2 separate regions of the Homo sapiens genome follow, and region 2 is linked to region 1. Evidence: promoter capture Hi-C in human tissues and cell types (Jung and others, 2019). All regions are on one chromosome and are shown on one strand. Each heading gives the region's core, a stretch centred on a gene start or on the middle of the fragment in contact. The rest is flanking DNA. Distances are from core to core; before and after follow the strand shown.

Region 1 (3,381 bases), core at 176-2,675:
TTTTTAAAAAAAGGTAAAACTAAACTGATTTTATAATGCAAGGAATTTAGTAGCATCTGTTCAAAAACACCGTGGTGAGGGTATCCGAATCCACAGGATAAAAACGACACATTTTACAGGAGAGTGCATTTTAAGACCTTTATTTTAAAATACTTAAAATAACTATAGCGTAAACCTCAACATTTCATGGAAACATAGAACTTCCAGACATTGATCACTTCTGGCTGGCTGCCTGGGGCTTCCATCTGTAGATCCCCGAGGACAAGAATGCACACCCCAGCCCCTCATCGGAGTGCTTCCGTGGGAAAGCTGGAGGGAGTCGCTCTTGGGTTGGGTGTTCCAAGTCGACTCCAGTCACCTCTAAACCTTCCTACGCTGGAATACAAGGCCTGCCACTCAGCTTCCCCTGGCTTCATTCCTCCCCACCGATCACTGGCAAAGGGCGAAGGGCCATGCCCGGCCTCTGCAGGTCCCCACTGCCAAACAGCCTGGGCAGAATAGGGGCGGGTTCCCCGGCGCGGCGGAGTCTCTGCTAACTCGGCAAGTGCCAAGCCCTCCAGCAGCCACCACGCCGGGCCTGCCTGCAGGCTGGTCCCTCAACGGCACCTGCGTTCCCGGCCGGGCTTCCCTTCCCGCGCCCCTCTGCACTGCACCCCTGGGAAGGCTGTGCCCACACCACGGTCTCCGCCCGTCCACACCGCGGCCCGAGGCGTTCCTGGCACCCGGCTCGGGCCTGCCCGCCGCACCAGCCGCCCCGGTGCTGGCGGAGAACCGGCTTCCCGCCCCGGCGCTGTTCCAGGAGGTGCGCCGAGCTCCGCGCGAAGCGAAGCGGACACCAGAACTGACGAGGCTCGCCCTGTTTTTAATGAAATTCCTAACACTTTGAATTAACGCAGACTCCATGCTTCCCACAGTCCTTCGGCCGTCGGTGACGCTTAGTCACCACTACATCCTCAAACCCAGACACGAACGCTAACGCAGCTCAAGGAGAATTTTCAAAAAACCCCGAGGGAGGAGCCAGCCCACCCGCCCAGGCCACGCGCCTCGCGCCCTTCACGGGCTCAGCGGGCGCGAACCCGCCAACCGCTTAGCGTTTCGCCAATCACCGCACCTCCCACCTATTGCCCCGCCCTGCGCTCCGTTCTGGCCAATCACCAGGGAGCCACCGTTTGTCTCTCCGCCTCTCCCGCCCGCCCCTAACCGGTTGGAAGTTTGAAGCCTTCAAACCTAGCCGGCGCCCAACAGCGCGGTAGCAGCGAGGTGTATTTTTAGCTCCCGGGCGGGCAGCCCCGCCCCCCCCTCCCCGCCTCCTTGTTTCCCCCAATGGGAGATGGAGTTTCCGACACGTCATCGCGCGGCTGTGCAGGAGCTGTCCAATCGGCGCTCGGGGAGAATGGCGTAATTAAAAAGCGGCGGAAGAAGGTGGGAGGGTCATGACGCAGCGAGTTTCAGTCGTGACTTTTCTGGGGGCATCGCGGCGTCCCCTTTTTTTGCCTTTAAAGTAAAACGTCGCCCCGACGCACCCCCCGCGTATTTCGGGGGGCGGAGGCGGCGGGCCACGGCGCGAAGAGGGGCGGTGCTGACGCCGGCCGGTCACGTGGGCGTGTTGTGGGGGGGAGGGGCGCCGCCGCGCGGTCGGTTCCGGGCGGTTGGGAGCGCGCGAGCTAGCGAGCGAGAGGCAGCCGCGCCCGCCGCCGCCCCTGCTCTGTATGCCGCTCTCTCCCGGCGCGGCCGCCGCCGATCACAGCAGCAGGAGCCACCGCCGCCGCGGTTGATGTGGTTGGGCCGGGGCTGAGGAGGCCGCCAAGATGCCGCAGTCCAAGTCCCGGAAGATCGCGATCCTGGGCTACCGGTCTGTGGGTGAGTGGCCGGTGGCCGCGCGGCCTCCTCGCGCCGCCGGGGCCTCGCCTGGGAGCCGGGTCGCGGCCGGGCCTGCGAAGTTTGGAGCCGGCGCGGCCATGTGGCGGGGCGGGCGGGGGCCGCGCGTTTCGTAACCACCATTCTGAGCGGAGGTGGTGGCGGTCGGGGCGGCGTCCGCGCCGGTGGAGGAGCCGCGGTAGCTGGGCGCCCTCCGCGGGCCGGGCGGGCAGGTGGCGGCCGGGCGGAGGGCGTGGGAGGCGCGGGGCGGGGGCCGTCGGCCGCCGAGGAGTCCGGGTCTCGTCTGGGGAAGTGAGGCGGCGCCGGGGAGCCGCGCTAGAGGCTGCCGCGAGGGAGTCACACCTGCCTCCCCGCCTTCGCCGCGGGCGCGCGTGACCGGGGCTGGCGGTCTCCCCCACCCCGCCCCCGATGTAAGGAAAAGAAAGTCCGTGGGATTTTAACAAAGGAAGCAGCGCCTCGGCTTCATTCCATCTGTGGTGAAGTTTACCCTTGTAAAGAAAACTAGGGATTTAGAGGACGTTTGGGCACTGAACGCAAGTTTTCTGCATAGGAAACCTAGGCGATCCCCCAAAAGAGGTCCCTCTGGAGGCCCTCGAGATGCTGCTGGCGGCCTGGGTAGGAAGACAGAGAAAAAGGAATGTCTGATCTCTCGGTGCCCTATTTTTGTTCGGGAAGGAATAAGGTCAGGTACTTGCAACCAGGCTGTTGAAGTAATTCCAAAGTCTTTTTGTTTTCTTTTTCTTCCCCCAAAAGGTTGACATACATTTGAAACAGTTCCTAGCAGTCGCCTTATTGCTGAATAAGGTGGCTTAGGGTCGGGTTGGGGGGCGGACGGGGTGTTACAGAACGAGCGGTTTTCTGGCCTGTGTGAAACCAGAGCGATTGAACTTAGACACGCTTCAGGGTGAGGCTGTATTGTCTCCCGACATCCGGAAGCCTGGAGAAATTAGTTCATCTTTTCGGGCTGTTTTGAAGTAACTGTCTATAGAAGGCGTGCACCGGGCCACAGTTGAGGGGATGGGGAGGTGAAAGCGAGGGTTCCGAGGCTCCCGTGATTGCGGAACGGGGTGACTATCTGTCATGGGAAGCTTGTACCTGCCTGCCGCTCACTGGATGCACTCCCCAACTGCGCTTTCCACCGCCTGTGCCAGGGTCTGTGCTCTTTGACCAAGATCAGCCACTGCATGCTTACTCATCCTTTTACCACCTCTCCGTCGAGAGCCGGGGGGAAATTAAGGGCTGAAAGAAGCTTGGCTAGAGATGCGGGGTGCCTAGAGTCGTAGGGGAACTCTTGTGCGATGCGGTGCTGAATCCGAGGGGATGCATAGGTGGCAGCTTTAACAGCTGCAGCCAGGAAGTAACCATGAATCAAATGGAGGGGTTCAAAGTCACTAATTGTTCAAATATCAACATGGAACCTGGGATCCAGCCTTTATTGGCAGCCTGAATCCATGCTCTTGTCTCTGTTCTCTTGATTTCCTCCTCTGCATTTTGAGGAGTTGG
Region 2 (3,391 bases), core at 306-2,805, 520 kb before region 1:
CACTCTATATTTCTGTGTGTGTGTCTTTAATTCCTCTAGCGCCGCTGGGTAAGGGTCTCCATGACCCAGCTGGTCTCGGCAGTGAATGATCTCTGCAATGAAAACTATAAAATACTGATAAAAGAAATTGAAGAAGACGGGCTGGGCACAGTGGCTCAGACCTGTAATCCAAGCACTTTGGGAGGCTGAGGCAGGCAGCTCACCTGAGGTCAGGAGTTCGAGACCAGCCTGACCAACATGGAGAGACCCCCATCTCTACTAAAATTACAAAAATTAGCCGGGTGTGGTGGTGGGCAACTGTAATCCCAGCTCCTCAGGAGGCTGAGGCAGGAGAATCATGCGAACCCAGGAGGTGGAGGTTGCAGTGAGCCAAGATCACAGCAGTGCACTCCAACCTGGGTGACAAAGCAAGACTCTCTCAAAAGGAAGGAAAAAAAAAATTGAAGACATGCACGCACAAAAAGAAAGATGTTCCACATTCACCAACTGGAAGAATCAATACTGTTAAAATGTCCACACCACCCAAAGCAACCTACAGATTCGATGCAATCCCTATCAAAATACCAATGAACCAAAGACATTCTTCACAGAAATAGAAAAAAAAAATCCTAAAACTTATATGGAATAACAAAAGACCCAGAATAGCCTATGCTATCTGAGCAAAAACAACAGAACTGAAGGAATGACATTACTTGACTTCACATTATCTAACCCCAAATTACAACTTCAAATTATACTAAAGAGCTATAGTAACCAAAATAGCATGGCACCAGCATAAAAACAGACACACAGACCAATGAAACAGAATGGAGAACCCAGAAACAAATCCATACATCTACAGCGAACTCATTTTTGACAGAAGTGCCAAGAACATACATTGGGAAAAGGAGAGTCTCTTCAATAAATGGTGCTGCGAAAACTCGATATACATATGCAGAAGAATGAAACTAGATCCCTATCTCTCACTATACACAAAAATCAAATTGAAATGAATTAAAGACTTAAGACCTCAAGCTATGAAACTACTAAAAGAAAACACTGGAGAAAATCTCCAGAACATTGAACTAGGCAGAGATTTCTGGAGTAATACCCCACCACAGCATACATGGACAAATGGTATCACATCAAGTTAAAAAGCTTCTGTACAACAAAGGAACAACAAAGTGAAGAGAAACCTAGAGACCAGGAGAAAGTATTTGCAAACTATCCATCTGGCAAGGGATGAATAACCAGAATACATAAGAAACTCAAACAATGCTATAGGAAAAAAATCTAATAATCCTATTAAAAAATGAGCAAAGGTCTGAATAGACATTTCTCAAAATAAGACATACAAATAGCAAACAGGTGTATGAAAAGGTGATCAACATCACTGATCAGAGAAATGCAAAACAAAACTACAAGGAGATATCATCTCACCCCAGTTAAAATGGCTTATATCCAAAAGACAGGCAATAATGAATGATGGTGAGGATGTGGAGAAAAGGGAATCCTCATACACCATTGGTGGGAATGTAAATTAGTACAAGCACTATGGAGACCAGTTTGGAGGATCCCCAAAAACTAAAAATAGAGCTACCACGTGACTCAGCAATCCCACTCATAGTATATACCCAAAAGAAAGGAAATCAGTATACCAAAGAGGTCTGCAGTCTCATGTTTCCTGCAGCACTGTTCACAATAGCCAAGATATGGAAGCAACCTAAATGTCCATCAACAAATGAATGGATAAAGAAAACATGGTACATATACACAATGGAGTACTATTCAGCCATAAAAAAAGAATGAGATCCCATCATTTGCAACAACAGGGATAGAACTGGAGGTCATTATGTTAAGTAAAATAAGCCAGGTACACAGAATGACAAACTTTGCCTGTTGTCACTTATTTGTGGAAGCTAAAAATTAAAACAATTGAACTCACGGAGAGAGAGACTAGATAATGGTTACCAGAGGCTGAGAAGGGAGTGAGGGGAGAGACAGTTAATGTATACAAAAATATAGTTAAATAGAATGCATAAGATCTAGTATTTGATAGCACAACAGCATGACTACAGTCAACAAAACTTTATTGCACATTTTAAAGTAACTTTAAAAGAGTATCATTGGGTTGTGAAAGATTCTCCCCCAAGCCTGAAAGCTTAAGGGAATGAATACTTCCTCCCTCTTCAAGCCCAGTCCAAATGCGCAAGGACAGTTGCGCCAGCAGCATGCATCAGCAAGTTAGCAGAAGCAAGAAGAGAGCTGGGCAGAAGACACCCCCTGAAGATCAAGAGGGAGGCCAGCGGGCACTACGCAGCAGCCACATCAGACTGGGACAATTCCTGCTTATAGAGGACTGTAAAACCCCTTCCCCATCCTCACTTGGGGCTGACGCTATTGCCAAGCAGTGAGTACCATCTGACCCCTTTCACTTGCTATTCTGTCCTGTTTTCCCTTAGAATTCGGTGGCTAAATACCAGGCACCTGTCGGCCAGTTAAAAGTGACTAGCGGCCAGTTAAAACTGACTAGCACAGCCGCTGGACTAAAGACACGGGTGTCAGGCTTTCCGGGATAGGGCTCTCTAACAACCCCTGACTCTTCGGAGTTGGGAGTGTTGGTTTGCCTGGAACCAGCTTTCCGCTTTTCCTGTACTTCCGGGCTGAGCCGAGGGTCGACAGAGAGGAAAGCCATTCAGCTCCGGGGTCCTGACAACAAGTTGGTTGACCCTGTGGCCATGAGCAGAACTCTCGAAGTCATGTTGCCCAAGCGAGACTCGCCCATCTATCCTACCTATCCTGACCCTTGCCTCCTGGGTCCTAATGCTTGTCAGAAAAACTTTCTCTTGCCTCTCTTCTCTGAGGCTAGTCCCGCTTCTGGAAACCACTCCCTGTCTCTGGTGCTTTTCTAGTTTCTCCTGTAAGAATCATTTCTAGTATAAACTCCAGGACTCTGTTAACCTTCTTTAGGCACCCGGGCTCACCAATTAGAAAGACATAATTTTTGCCCAAAGCCCCATCAGGGTGGGGGACTGTCTTATCCGGAATTTTAGGATCCCTCCTCAGACTAGCAGGCCTAACAAAAGCTATTCCAGAAGCTAGGATACGGGGAGCTTCAGAAATGACATTCTTGTATTCATATAAGTGCGGACAAAAAGGCATCACTCTTCCAACTCTGGAGATCCCTCCCCTCCCTCAGGATATGGCCCTCCACTTCATTTTTGGGGCATAACATCTTTACAGGAGGGGTAAAGTCCCAATACTAACTGGAGAATGCTTAGGACCCTAACAGGTTTTCGAGAATGCATCAGTAAGGGCCACTAAATCCAATTTTTCTCGGTCCTCTTTGTGGTCTAGGAGGACAGGCAAGGGTGCAGATTTTTGAGAATGCATTGGTAAGGGCCACTAAATC

Evidence for each region. Contacts are between HindIII fragments. The study calls those that stand out against the background at their distance.
Region 2: a contact is called between a fragment that was not itself captured here and the fragment with the promoter of RHEB in region 1, in 2 of the 25 tissues and cell types used here (dorsolateral prefrontal cortex and spleen).

Annotation. Positions count from the first base shown.
Region 1 is chr7:151,517,939-151,521,319 of GRCh38, reverse strand. It overlaps RHEB (Ras homolog, mTORC1 binding), which reads left to right and starts at 1,425. Exons shown (of 8, transcript NM_005614.4): 1 at 1,425-1,860. The coding sequence starts at 1,809. RefSeq lists silencers at 975-1,024, 1,065-1,414, 1,585-1,744, 1,915-2,034, 1,745-2,174 and 1 more and an enhancer at 3,245-3,294. The HindIII fragment of the contact is 18,818 bases long and covers 1-3,381 here.
Region 2 is chr7:152,034,818-152,038,208 of GRCh38, reverse strand. All of the region lies in intron 1 of GALNT11 (polypeptide N-acetylgalactosaminyltransferase 11), which reads right to left. Among named protein-coding and RNA genes, the nearest start is that of GALNT11, 11 kb to the right of the region's middle. The HindIII fragment of the contact is 4,607 bases long and covers 1-3,391 here.